Linked DNA regions of Homo sapiens: region 2 is linked to region 1. Evidence: promoter capture Hi-C in 16 types of primary human blood cells and fetal thymus (Javierre and others, 2016). All regions are on one chromosome and are shown on one strand. Each heading gives the region's core, a stretch centred on a gene start or on the middle of the fragment in contact. The rest is flanking DNA. Distances are from core to core; before and after follow the strand shown.

Evidence for each region. Contacts are between HindIII fragments. The CHiCAGO score rates a contact against its expected background, and 5 or more counts as called.
Region 2: a fragment that was not itself captured here is called in contact with the fragment with the promoter of VPS18 in region 1 in 1 of 17 cell types (erythroblasts); the score reaches 5.4 in erythroblasts.

The regions. Positions count from the first base shown.
Region 1 is chr15:40,890,307-40,897,448 of GRCh38, reverse strand. VPS18 (VPS18 core subunit of CORVET and HOPS complexes) reads right to left here and starts at 2,999. Exons shown (of 5, transcript NM_020857.3): 1 at 2,590-2,999; 2 at 1,370-1,511. The coding sequence starts at 2,680. RefSeq lists an enhancer at 2,184-2,273 and silencers at 3,114-3,283, 5,405-5,454, 6,723-6,772. The HindIII fragment of the contact is 16,460 bases long and covers 1-7,142 here.
Region 2 is chr15:40,976,163-40,983,304 of GRCh38, reverse strand. It overlaps INO80 (INO80 complex ATPase subunit), which reads left to right. Exons shown (of 36, transcript NM_017553.3): 35 at 228-443; 36 at 2,865-4,425. The coding sequence ends at 3,082. It overlaps LOC124903476 (a long non-coding RNA gene), which reads right to left and starts at 2,928. Exons shown (of 3, transcript XR_007064602.1): 1 at 2,839-2,928; 2 at 1,885-1,995. RefSeq lists an enhancer at 6,217-7,142. The HindIII fragment of the contact is 1,815 bases long and covers 2,819-4,633 here.

The sequences.
Region 1 (7,142 bases), core at 1,750-4,249:
TCATATTGCACATATGTGTATGTGTCTTAATTTGTAAATTTTCTAAATTAATGATATTTCATGAACATTCCACTAGTCAATCGATATAGCTCTAACTTTTTTTGTTTTTACCCCCAAACCCAGCTTTCCAGGATAACTCTTTTTTTTTTTTTCAGACAAAGTCTTGCTCTTGTCATCCAGGCTGGAGTGCAGTGAGCATGATCTCGGCTCACTGCAACCTCTGCCTCCCGGGTTCAAGCCATTCTCCTGCCTCAGCCTCCCAAATAGCTGGGATTACAGGCACCTGCCACCACACCCTGCTAATTTTATATTTTTAGTAGAGAAGGGGTTTCTCCATGTTGGCCAGGCTGGTCTTGAACTCCCGACCTCAGGTGATCTGCCTGCCTCAGCCTCCCAAAGTGCTGGGATTACAGGCGTGAGCCACCTCGCCCAGCCAGGATAATTCATTTTTTTAAACAACTGCATTATATTCTATTTTGTGGCTGAATTGCAGTTTAATCACCATTTTCCTATTGATGAGCATTCAGCATGGATCCAGTTTTTCCCACCACAAGAATGCTCTAATCAATACTCTAATACTCTTAAGTCTACACTCCTAAACAGTTTTTTTTTTTTTCCTTTTCCTTTTTTTTTTTTTGAGATGGAGTCTCACTGTTGTCGCCTGGGCTGGAGTTCAATGGTGCAATCTCAGCTCACTGCAACTTCCGGCTCCCAGGTTCCAGCAATTCTCCTGCCTCAGCCTCCCCAGTAGCTGAGATTACAGGCGCCTGCCACCACGCCCGGCTAACTTTTGTATTTTTAGTAGAAACAGCGTTTCACCATGTTGGCCAGGCTGGTGTCGAACTCCTGACCTCAGGTGATCCACCCTCCTCAGCCTCCCAAAGTGCTGGGATAACAGGTGTGAGCCACTGCACCTGACTTTTTTTTTTTTTTAAAGAGACAGGAGTACAGTGGTGCAAACACAGCTCACTGCAGCCTTGAACTCCTGGGCTCAAGTGATCCTCTTGCCTCGGCCTCCCCAGTAGTTGGGACTGCACCATCACACCTAGCTAATTTTTAAAAATTTGTTTTGGTAGAGACGGGGGTCTCACTATATTGCCCAGGCTGGTCTCAAACTGCTGATTTCATGTGATCCTCTTGTCTTGGCCTCCCGAAGTGCTGAGATGATAGGTGTGAGCCACCATGCCCTGCCAGGCCAGATACTTAACCACTACCCTGTATTGGTTCTCTTTGGAAAGGGATAGGATATTTCCTGAAAACTCCAAATTCACTGCTTTACTTGCCTGGAATAGAAGAAAGGCCCAGTGAGTTAACAGTCCCCAAACACCTCTCTAGTCCCTACTCCTAAGCTCTGTGAGCTCTTGATTACCGGAGCAGTGTATCCTTGCCCAGGCTCATGCACAGCTGATTGCTGGAGACGACAAGACTGGTAATGCGCTCGGAAGGGGTGAAGTCAATGCGCTGCTTTGTGAAGATGGGCACTTCCTTCTCCAGCTGGGCATTCACATACCCTACAGGTAAGGAATGACAAGAAGATTAGCTGTGGAAGAGACAGGTGAAGGGCAAGGAGAGGCAGAAAAAACACCACAGTGCTCCTCGCCACTTTCCTGACATATTCCTATCCCCAGGACCTTGGTTAACAAATAGTTTGATATCAAGTCGTTTGCTGGTCACCTTTACAATAGAGGTCTGGAGCTCTTTCCACACTCTGACAGCAGTGAGGGGTTGATTCTTTGAACCCTTAAGATGCTGTCACAGCATGATATACCTGCTCCCACTGGTAATGGGGCTGCGTGGAGGTGGGACGGGACTGGTGGTCTGGGTATTCTCCCTTATCAGGTCTTTGGCCCAGCAATCCCAGCTTAACTGAAGTAGTATAGCCCCATTCTCTGCCCCCCTCCCTGCCCATGCGGTAATGAGCCTCAGTGTAGAGTTGGCAAGTGCTGGGATATTTTGAGCATTGAATGAAGGTAAAGACTAGAGTGAAAGCAGCTCCAATTCGTTAACTCCACTCACTGGAACAGTTCCCCAGGGCTCCCTATGCCCTCATTCTCCTGGAGACTCACTACTTTCTACAAAAACGTCCCCAAACTCCAGGCTGCACCCAGCTATAGCCAAGGCCAAAAAGATTTCATCTCCATTTTCCCCGTTCAGCGACAAAATTCCCTCTGGGACCCTCCCTTCTTCCTCTGCAATACTCCGCCTTCACCACTTTCTTTGTCCATTCCTTCCCTCCCACCTCCAGAAGGGGCCTGGTGGGAAAAGCATCAGCAGAAGCCGGGAGCCCATTCTAAGTTCTCCCAACAGCCCAACTGCGCCCTGTAGGTGAGTAATTCCTTATCTGGGCCCCAATTCCCTCTCAAAAGGACCCTAGCGGTAGAGCCTAGATCACGCGGCAGCTCCCGTTGCTCTTTCAAACTTCGACTATCCACCAGCTGGGGGCCAAGAGAGCCTGAGGAGAATCAGGGGCCTAGACCCGGAAGGCACGGCCCAGGGGATGACCCCGAGCTCTTGGAGCTGCCCTCCTCGCTGCTCCCACGCAAATGCTAGGAGAGCCGAAAGGGGCAGCGGCACCCTCCTCTTCCTTACCCGAGTGGGGGATGCCCACGCTAGGGCAGCCGGGCTGCAAGACGGCCGAGCGGGACAGCGAGTTCTCGTACTCATCCAGGATGGACGCCATGGTGCCCGGCCTCTGGGCTCTTTGTCCGGGGCCTGGGGATTACAAAAGGGCTACCCCCCCGGGGTCCCCGTCGCCCCAGAATGGAAGCTGTAACTCCCCAGCCTCTGACAGATCCTGGGAACCTGCAGCCGTCGCCTCCTCTTTAAAATCCTGAGGATCCTCTTGCTCTTGCCTTATGCAGCGAGATAATCGGGCAGCCCTCGTCCTTGAATCTGGCGCAGTCTTGCACCTTACTCCCCGCCCCCGCTACAAAAAAATCACAGGCTCCCTTCAGCCGGTGCCAGGTGATCCCAACCTCGCCCCGGCAGCTCAGCTGACTCCCGCCCCCGTGACGCGGGCCTAAAACGTAACTTCCGGGTTCTCAGAGCCCCGCGTACGCTGGCGCACAACGTCGCCGGGCCAGCCAGCAGAAGGCGAGACGAGGGCTGAGGGCTGGGCGCGTGGCGAGTGCTGCTGAACACAAGCCCCGCCCCCAGGATCCTGCTGCAGTTCCGAGCTTTGACACCAGGAGGCAATCCCGGCTTTCTCAGCCGGCCTTCCCCACCCGCCCCGCGCCGCCCAGTTTTGGCTTTCGTGCCCAAGCTCCGCTCCCTCGGGTGGTCTGTCCAGCCTCCCTGACCAGCTCCCGCTCCCGCCTCTCTAAACAGCCTCGGGGAACCTCCCGTTCCTCAATCCAATCGCTGTCTCTATCCCACCGTCACAGGGCACACGCAGACAACTCCTGGCCACTCTTCTCCCTTACCCAAAGGCCCCCCAGCTTCCAGGAGACCGCAGAGCTGGTGGCCAGGCTAGTGGGAAGCCCTGTGCCAGGAACCGCCCTGACCTGCCCCACAGTGGCTCCTTGGCTCAGGGTTGCTGGGCCGCTTCCATTCACTCATTCACCAAAATGTGGTTGAGCACTTACTCTGTGCCAGGCCTTGGGCTGGGCGCTGGGGTCACAGAGATGAGGACAGCCCCTCCCCGCCCTGGAAAAGGTCGTAAGCCAGCAGGGGCGCTGGACCCGTAAATAGACCATTCATACTAGAAAAGCAAGTGATGGATTATCCATCAGGCACTTACTCCACGAATGAGCGTCCACTCTGTGCCAAGCACTGTTCCAGGCTCTGGGGACGTGGCAGAGAACAAGACGGAAAATGTCTCTTGCCTGGTGGGGCGTACCCAGCGACGTGGCCACGGCACTGAGAGCGTGAAGGAGCAGGGAACAAATACCTGCCAAGCCTAGCAAGAACGAGGGACAAGTGGGAGCAAGCGTGAAGGCGGGGGCCGCCCAGCCTGAGGTGGAGAGGGGAGTCCTCAGCCAGGGACCTGCGAGGGCTGGGGCGCGACTGTGGTTGGGTTTTCCTCTCTCACCTGCTTAGGCGACCCAGATGGAGTCTGTTCCCTTCTGGGGCCCTTGGATTCTACCTTGCTAAAGTGGAAGGCTCTGGACTAGGGTCGCCACCGTCCTGGCTCTGCTGGGCGGCCCCCGCCTAACAACTAAGAGCATCCCTTTGCTCTCAGAAGTTTCCAGGTTTGCACCATACCTTATGTGGTTGGGTTACTCTTGCTCAACTTCCTGGCCACGTGCGGAGAACTGTGACTCTCACCAGCCCCACTGAGGGCTATCTGGGCTCTCTGGCTTGGAGGGGCACTAGTCCTGGGGCAGGTGACAAGTATGCTGTCCAGGCTCATTTCCCTTCGCACCAGGGTCCTGCTTCTCTTGACCAAGCCTGCAGCCTCAATGCAGCCTTCCCACCTGAGGTTGCCAGGTCCCAGGAGGGAAGTGCAGGAGCAGGACAATAGGCAGGAGGCTTCCTCTAAGAAAAGTGATCCCAGACAGGGAGCTGCCCTGCTCCATACATAACACTTCACCCCCAGGTCACCTGCCATCTGCCCTCAGGTCTGGACTGTGCAGAGGGTTGTCCCTGCTGCACAGAGCCCATTAGCAGTTGGAGGTCAGCATAGGAGTGCTGCCTTAGGGACACAGAGTACTTCCAGCTACAGCCTCAGGGACCCCAGCACCCCATTGTTGGGCTCCATGGCTCTCCGGGATGTATGGGATAGGCCTGGGTGGACCCTGTTTGTGGCAGACTCAGTACAGTCTCCCTTATGCGTTGATTACCACAGTGCATTTCCACCTACTCATTCTTCAGTTCTTAGGCTGGACTTTGGATTCTTTGAGAGCCACAGAATCAAGTGTGGCAGTTGCAATGAGACAGGTAAGGGATGACTGCTAGGGCATCAAAAGAGAGGATTCCTGTATGAAAGCAGCTGAATTTGACCCAAGACTTGAAGTGCATGTATGATCTCCAAGGGCAAGCTGTATCTCTTATCCCTGCCCAGCCACTTGCTAGCTGTGACACTGCACAGTTGATGCTCTTAGCTTCAGTTTCCTCATCTACAGAGACAAATACCTACCTAGTAGGTCTGTGCTGAGAAGTAAATGAGGGATCCACGTGAAAGCTCACTGCTATAGTATAATGCCCAACATGGAGCATGTGCTTAATAAACTCTAAATGTGACTTTCATCTGACAGTCTCTCTCAAGTCCTCCTCCTTCCTGAAGCCTCTCTGGATCCCTCAGAACTCTTTTTAGAGATGGGATCTTGCTCTGTCACCCAGGCTGGAGTGCAGTGATGTGATCATAGCTCATCTAAACACCTGGGCTCAAACCATTCTCCTGTCTCAGCCTTCCCAGTAGCTGGGATTACAGGTGCGAGCCACTGCGCCCAGCTGGCTTTTCTTATTCTGGCCACTTGGGGGCCCCTAATGATGCAGTGTGGACATTTTGCTTTGATAGAAACTGCAGGAAATAACCCAGTGATTTCTGAGCATGAAGATACAGAGGTGCCTTAGGGAACTCACAGCTAGAGACATACGCACCAGCCTCTAGTCCTCAGAGTCATTGTAGCAGTTACCATGAGACAGGTAACAGGTGACTGCTAAGCCAATGAGAGAGAGGATCTGTGTAAGAAAGCAGTTGAATTTGACCTAAGACTTGAAGAGCATGTAGGACCTCTAAGGGCAAAAAGAGAAGGTATTATGCAGTCCTCAAGAAAACCAAGAGCAGGGCTGAGCACGGTGGCTCACACCTGTAATTCCAGCACTTTGGGAGGCTAAGGTGGGAGGATCACTTGAGTCCAGTAGTTTGAGACCAGCCTAGCCAACGTGGCAAAACCCCATCTCTATTAAAAATACAAAAACTAGCCAGGTGTGGTGGTGCATGCCTGTGGTCCCAGCTACTCGGGAGGCTAAGGCAGGAGAATCGCTTCAACCTGGGAGGCAGAGGTTGCAGTGAACCAAGGTTGTGCCACTACACTACAGCCTGGGTGACAGAGTGAGACTCTGCCTCAAAAAAAGAAAAACAGAAAGGAAAGAAGGAAGGAAAAAGGAAAGGAAAGGAAAAGAAAACAGCAATGGCCTGCAAGCAGTGTGATTTTGGGGTACAACGGTGGAGTGCTAGGGAGTGGAGGGAATGAGGCGGGCTGTGGCCAGGTTGCAAAGTTATTCAATGCGCCATGGGAAGGTTTTGGTTGGGGTTGAGAGAGTATATGATGTGGGTTCTGGAAAAATGGGTGGTGGCTTAGGTGGAGATCCCCTCAGAGCAGATGAGACCCGAGCAGAGGCAAAGGAGAAGCAGTGAGGACCCAAACAGGAGAAAGAACATAGGCTGGGGAGAACTTTCCGAAGAAGGGCCCCCAGGACTTGGTGTCAAGTTAGATTTGAGAAGTGACAGAAGAGTGCAGGATGACTCCTGGGGAGACCTGGCAGATGGTGGCAGTGACATAATGGTCAAGGAGGAGGATCCCGGTGAAGAGGGGTGGGGTCACTTGATTGAGCTCAACCTGGACAGTGGCACATGAGACAACTGCAGGGCACTCCGTGGAGGAGCCCAGACCATGGGCACACTCTTCCAGGACACTCACTAACTCACTCATAAACAGTTGTTAAAAGTTGCATGAATGAGCTCTCTCATGTCTCAGTTTCTATATTTGTAAGGTGAGTATTGTGAGTATAATAGCATATTATGCAAATCACCCAAAGCTGTGCCTCAATACAAAATGCTCTATACAAGTTAACTACCAGTAGTAATTGTTGACTTAGTTAAGACCAAGATTAAAAGGAATGATTTAATTGACTTAATTAAAAATAAATTTTCTGGTTGGGTGCAGTGGCTCACACCTATAATCCCAGCAGTTTGGGAGGCTGAGGCAGGAGGATCACTTGAGTCCAGGAGTTCAAGACCAGCCTGGGCAACATAGTGAGAACTTGTCTCTATTAAAAAAAAAAAAAAAAAGATTTTCTGTTTGAAATAATTTAAAATTTACAGGCCGGGCGCAGTGGCTCATGCCTGTAATCCCAGCACTTTGGGAGGCCGAAGCGGGCGGATCACAAGGTCAGGAGATCGAGACCATGCTGTCTAACATGGTGAAACCCTGTCTCTACTAAAAATACAAAAAAAATTACCTGGGCGTGGTGGTGGG
Region 2 (7,142 bases), core at 2,477-4,976, 85 kb before region 1:
AATGAAAAGCAGCTTGAGGAGTTAGGATGTTTTCATTGTTTAGAATTCTTAGTATTCTGTGTGACTCAGTGGTCTAGCCATCATTAAGTGGAGACATAGACCTCCTCATGGGTCCTAAAACAAATGCCCTAAGAGCTCGCTTTCCCTGTCAGGAGAAGGTGATGTTAACATCTTGGAGATTGACTTTTTTTTTTTTTCTTTCCCTTTTGGCCCATTTGTTCCCACAGGAATTTCCATTCAGGAAATGCCAGCTGCAGGACGTGGTCACTCAGCCCGAAGCCGAGGCCGCCCCAAAGGTTCAGGAAGCACAGCCAAAGGAGCAGGGAAGGGCCGGAGCCGAAAGTCCACGGCAGGCAGTGCTGCTGCAATGGCAGGAGCCAAAGCCGGGGCTGCAGCGGCCTCTGCAGCTGCCTATGCCGCATACGGGTACAACGTGTCTAAAGGTACAGAAGCCCAGGGTGGCTGCAGACTTTGTTCTGGTCAGAGACAGTCTAGAAATTCTGTCAGTCAGGTAGAACATGTAGGAAACCCTGAAGCCGGGAGCTTTCTTCCTAGAGCCCCAATTGGGGTTCTTCTTCTTTGTAATAAGCACTGTTGACTCACCCCTTGCCCTCCTGACGGTACAGGGCTGTCTGTGGATTGGAAGTAGTTGTAAAAAGGGAGAGCTGAATTGTGAACTGTACTACTTTAAACATTCTGAATTTTTCTTGCTTTGGGGATTTGTTTTCTTCCTAGGCTTTCATTTCTGAGATCCACATTTTAGTAATCCAAATTAGCATAGTTAACGTTCATTCAGCTGTGTGATTTATCACCTAGATATGAGGCACCTGCTGCATGCATAGGCGTATACCACATGGGCCAGGCACAGTGGCTCACACCTGTAATCCCAACACTTTGGGAGACTGAGGCAGGCAGATCACTTGAGGCCAGGAGTTCGAGACCAGCCTGGCCAACATGAGGAAACCCTGTCTCTACCAAAAAACACAAAAAATTAGATGGGCGTGGTGGCTCACGCCTGTAGTCCCAGCTACTTGGGAGGCTGAGGCACGAGAATTGACTGAACCCTGGAGGTGGAGGTTTCAGTGCACTGAGATCAGGTCACTGCACTCCAGCATGGGTGACAGAGCAAGACTCTCTCAAAAACTAAAAAACGTAAAAAGGAGTATTCCACATGGACCTTGCTCCTGAGTGTATAATAGCAATGAGAAGGGGAAGCCATGCATGCAGTACTCTTAACAGCAATCCACGGCAAAATACAGGGGAATGAAAAGAAGGCAGCCACAGCAGTTGTAGGTCAGGAGGAGAGGGAACCATGGTCCTGCTGATAAGTTGCCTGTCTGTATTCAAAAGGGAGGAGAAGAATGAGGAAGGATTTGGACTGGTGACAGAGAGCTGGCAGTGGCCAAGGCATACTGGGGGTCACTGAGCAGCTTAGGTTCCATGGAAGAGGAGCAGTAGGAGTCAAGGTTGTAAACACATGGCGAGGCCTGCTGGGCAGGAGCTTAGCAGATGTGTGACAAGGGGCTGCAGACAGTTTGAGGAAAAAAGTGGCTGTTGTGACCGTGATATGTGAAGGATGATTGTAGCTATAAAGTACAGGACATTTGAGTGTGGTGAGAAAGAGAGAGCCACTTACAGACCTTTCTTCCCATTCAATACGTGGGCTTAGTATGAGCTCATAGTTGTAGCAAGTAAAGGCATACTAGTATAGAAAGTGCTTGGAGTGTAGTAATTGCTCAGTAATTGTTAGTTTACTTGCCTTTTCTCTTACTGCAGAAATCTCAGCTTTCATTTATTGGTTCTTCCAGGAAATATGAAGTATGATAGAGGAAATATGAAGTATAATAGCCTCGCCCAGTGTTTCTTAGCCCTTTGCCAACTTACCACATCCTTGGAAAACAACAGTCATGCCAGTAGTCCAGGCTGCCGTGGCAGGGTCTCACCCATGGCTGGGGCATTGCATATACTCATCAGGGTTTCTCCTCAGAACCTGCACTGTGTAGAGGGCAGAAAGGGTGAGGGAGATAGAGGGGGTAGAGCAGCACAAGAAAAACCAACAGTGCTTGGCAACTGGAAATGGAAATCAAGGGAAAGGAGTGGTTCAGAGAGTACCCGTGGTTCCACTGTGGATGAGGAGAGAGACATGTCTGCCCATCAAGCACTTAGAATTCTTTTTTGGAAAGTAAAACCAGTACATATGAAACAATTGAAGAATCAATGTGTTATCACATGTAAGTGGATTTGGCTTATGTAGGAAAAAGGGAAGTTCACTGTTGCCCAGGGAGTCATCACTCAAGATGGGGGATTTGAGCTGTGCCCTTGAAGTGACACAGGCCTTGGAGAGCAGGGGTGGCCATTGCCAGCGCAAGGAGAACTGTATGAATATAGACACAGGATAGAGAGTGGGCAGCCTTGTACCCTCTGGCCCGACTTACTGGAGAGTAGCAGGAGCATGAAATTGAAAAGGAAACATCTTATCAAACTTGATGTTCCAAGAAAGAAGAAAGGAAAAACCTGTTTGTGCCTAGTAAGTTACAGCTCTCATCCTGTAACTTTGGTGTCTCAGATTGTAAAATGTGTGCTCTATCTAGAGTGTCAAGATGAACATTTTACCATCTGTGGATGAAGTAGTATAGAGAGGGTTGGGTAGGTATCATTTTCTCTTAAAAATCTATTCCTCTTACTGAAAAGACAGTTGACAGGAAGAGCAAGCAAACATGCCAAGAAGTTGTTAGCAAGGAGTGGCAGGGAGGAATTGCCCACCACTTCTCCTCCAGCTCAGACTCTGGTAACCAAGGCCACAGGCTCCAAGGAAGCTTACGCGGGACTGGTGCTTACGTTCTTGTCTCTCTCCGTCCCCACAGGAATCTCCGCCAGCAGTCCTCTGCAGACATCCCTTGTTCGGCCTGCTGGCCTTGCTGACTTTGGACCTTCAAGCGCCTCTTCTCCTTTGAGTTCCCCTTTGAGCAAGGGAAATAATGTTCCTGGGAATCCCAAGAACCTCCACATGACCAGCAGCCTAGCCCCAGACTCTCTGGTCCGGAAACAGGGCAAAGGCACCAACCCCTCTGGAGGACGGTAACCATCTGGGCCCTCCGACTTCCTTCAACCAAACCAGGGCTAGAGTCCTGACCTGCCAGTGGTCTTTGGATGGCTTGCCCCGTGCAGCATCTTGCATCCTGAGTCAGAAGTGGAAATGTCCAGCAGGGGAAGGACAGGCAGGTGGATGGTGTGAGCACTTTTATCATCTGTGTCTCATCAGGAGCATCTGGGGTGCCTGTAGGAGGAAGGCCACAGGGCATGGATCAGCCCCACTGCATCTCAAGTGAACTGTATAGCCAAGTCTTAAACCTCTCACGGGGCAAGCCTGACACAGACCCCCTTTAGATGCTCAGGCATACTGTTTCCATCCCGATTCCACTCTTCGGCTCTGACACGTCCCTTGCAAAGTCTCCGCAGGTGCTGTGAAGAGCCTTCCATGGTAGAGATTTCTCTTAAGAGTGTGATTTCTCATAGGGCTAGTAAGGGAGATTGTATACCTGTTGTCCACAGTCTTCAGGCAGCTCCCCAGGTCTCTGAACCCCAGAGTGTCATCATTGGAGAGAGCAGTGACTGCGAGAGATGGTGGAGGCCGCTAAGCATGGTAGAGGCTAGAGGAAGTCTATCCACAGGCAGTTGTGTTCCCAGCAATTCCTCCCATCCTGCATGGTTCACACCAAGAGAACCTTCAGATCCTACCAGCAACCGTAGCACCTTCCACCCAGGGGACTCCCAGAAGCCAGTAGAGAGACCAGGAGCCACCTCAATCAGCAGGACAGCCTCACTGCCCCTCTTGCAGAGTCCCCTTTGCCCATCCTGAATGCACAGTCTCCCTGCTCATGCCCTTCAGTCCCCTGCTTGGCTGTATGCACTGTCTATATTGCACTGAGAGAGGAAGGGACAGCAGGAGTGAGGTGAAGAGGGCGGAGAGAGGGGGCAGGCTCGGCACCGGCCCTCCCAGCCCGGCCAGCCTGAGCTTGCTGCCCTCCAGTAGAGACAGAGGGGCAGTGTTTGCATGGGAGGTGTTTCTGCCTGTCCCTGCCTGATGTCCCTGGTGGAGCAGGTACCTCCGGGCGGGCAAGCCTCTGATTTGCACACCTGAAAATCGCGGAATTGAGTTTCGATAGATTGATTTTTAAAACTTTTTTGGAGTAGGGGGTATAGGGGAATCATTTAATTTAAATCATTAAGATTCCCCTGCTCAAACCCAGATTCCTGTGTACAGATGCTATTTAGAGGGAATCAGAAAAATGCCAAGCCTTTTCTCTTTGAATGTGCTATTTTTATAACTGAACTTGTACATATGTATAAAGAGAGACACATCTTCCTTTTACTAACTGGATAAAAAAATCTTAAATAAAATGGAGTGAGATAATTTTATGTAAATTGAGGTGTCTGTGGTCTTTGCAGCTGCCCCTCCTTGGAGGCAAACTAGAGCCCTTGGTGGATGTGGCAGGATACAGGGAAAGCAGAGCCCTCGCCTGTGATCAGAGAGGACAGGGGTTGGTGGGACAAGGAGTGGACTGTGGGTGTTTCCTTAGTAGCAGAATTGATTGGGCTTATGAATTTGCCTCTGGCCATCAGAAAGGAAGCTTGACCAACTGTCTGACATGCAGTGGTCAACGCCCTTGTCTCCATGGTGGGCTCTTTATGACTCAGGACTTAGACCCCAGGACTGAGGTGTGGGCGGCTTGGCCTAGGCGCCATTAAGCAGAGCTACATAGTGGTCATCTTAATAGTGGCAGTGTTCTCAAAGTTAGCTGCACTCTTAAGAATCATGAAAGAAAATGGTGAAATACATTCCTAAGGATGCCAGAGACATCCAGGCTGTGAAAACTTACCTTGGTGATAGTTGGGAAAAGAGCCCTAGTTCCCAGCCTGGCCTGGCAGCCAGCGTTTCTCTGACTGGGTGAAACACTGATAAGCTCTTGTATCACTTTTGGGTAGGGCTCATGTGGTTCCCAAGTATGCTGGCTGTGTGGCCTCCCTAGCCTTGCTCACCCTGCACGCTGTTGGTCAGGGTGGGCTGGCTCCTGGGCAGCTGATGCCCACCACAGTCACAAGGATCAGCCTTTCTTCATTGACATCAAGTACATTACTAGATACTCTGGATCTTGTTTATCTTGCTGGTGAACTTGACCAAGGCCTCACACAGAATAAACCAACATCAGAACTAAGCAGCTCTGCCTTTACATGCTATGTAAAGATTTTTCATAAGAAAAGATAGTAATTTGAAACCTGAATTGTCCCTTAAGGCAACGCTTCTCCAGTGTTAATGTGCACACAAATCACCTTGAGATCATAACATGCAAGTTCTGTTTCTGAAGGTCTAGGTTGAGGCTTGAGACTGAGTTTCTTGAGAAGATCCCAGGTGATGGCCATGCTGCTTGCTAGTCCTTGGACTACCCCTGGAATAACAAGGCCCTAGGGTGCCTTCCAGCCCTGCCAAGCAGGAAAAATCTCTGCTCTTTGCTTATATGCCCGCACCCCAGCCAGGAAGCCCGGTGCAGGAAATACTTTATTTTTCCTCTTACCCAGCTTAATACACCTGATGACAGAAAATGAAATCCTAGCATTTCTAGAGAAATTCAATCCCTTATATGTTTTCTCCATTTTTGTTTTGTTTTTTCATTTTTAAACTAACTGTTCATCATTTTCTCCATCACTTCCTGGGTAGCACCTCTGTTGGGCATGTTAGGTATGAGAGAAGGCCTCAGATTTGCTACTGTCCCTCTCCTGTGTGGCCTCCACCAAGATGCAATATGTCATGAAGAGTCTGTGACCCCTGGACTCAGTGTTTCCTGTGCCTGTGTCCTTTTATTGTGACCACCAGACTCCTGGATCAGTCATCTTTCTCAACTAATTCCTAAGCCCCTCTCAGGGGGCATGGAGACCGTTTGGCTGCTCTCCCACGCTTCTCTGAGACTACCAGAGAGTCGCGAAACCCCCAACTGGGGAGGCAGCGTGTTGACCATGGGTGCCCAGTTCAGCCAGCCTCATGGTGCACATTCAGACCACTTAGATGGTGGGGTAGGGAGAAGGCAGGTTGTGTTCTAGAGAAAGCAGAGACGTCCGGTTGTCACGAAATTGTGTGTCCAAGTACTAAGGCGGCCCACTGCCTCATCAAAGGACCCTGAGGAAGCTGGGTGCCTCCCTTATCTGGCCTCTTCCTGCGCCCTCATTTCTTTCTTGCTTCAGGTCCTGGGACTTAGCTGGCTTCCCTTTCCTCTTCAAAACTGCCACCACCCACTCTCTCGCTCCAGTTTCTCCCCCAACCCCCACCCCCGTGGCAAGCTGCTGGGGGATGGACTCCTGGTTCTCTCCTAGCTGCTGCCAGAAGTGAGCATCATGCTTTTCTTTTTTTTAAATTAAGGATTTTCTTGCTCATCACAACAAGGACACCAGGCAAAAACAATACTGTATACAGAGAATTACAAAGCTTGAGATACTTCACAGTCCTCACAGAATCCCTGCCTACAGTTCCTGGCACCTTTGGTGAGAAACAAGGATTCCTGAGGGAGAGGCTCCTGGACTCTTACCTCCTTCCTAGAGAGCTGAGTTCTTTCTTCCAGAAAGGCATATGGAATGTGCATCTGTGAGTGCCCACAAGGCCTCTGCTCTCCTGCCACTTGGGATTTCATTGTTCTGGCACACAAATCTCAAAGATAAATATGTGGCCCAAGGATTGGGGAGGCCCCTCTGGGTCTGACTTGGCAACAGCCTCAGGGGAAGAAGGAAGGGGGCACAGAGGTTCAAAGTTGGAGGTGGTGGGGAGTTTTCTAAGTTTGCTCAGCTGATGCCCCCCTAAAGCAGCTCTGGGAGAGAATGCCCGGCCTCAGCTCAGAATGTTCCACCCTCCTACCACCCCCCCAGCACATCACCACAAACCCCACCCTGAACTAGAGGCCCACCCCCCAAGCTGTTCCTGGCTGCCAGAGAAGAAAGGAGCTCCCCTCCCATTTCCCAGATGAGAGGTCCCAGAAGACCTATGCTGCTCCATGCCTTGCACCCTTGAAGAGATGGTGCCAGTTACCTGGGGATGTCTGAGCAGAGTGGTGGGGAGAGTTCAGGTCCAATGGATTGTCAGTGCAGTTCAGCTTCAG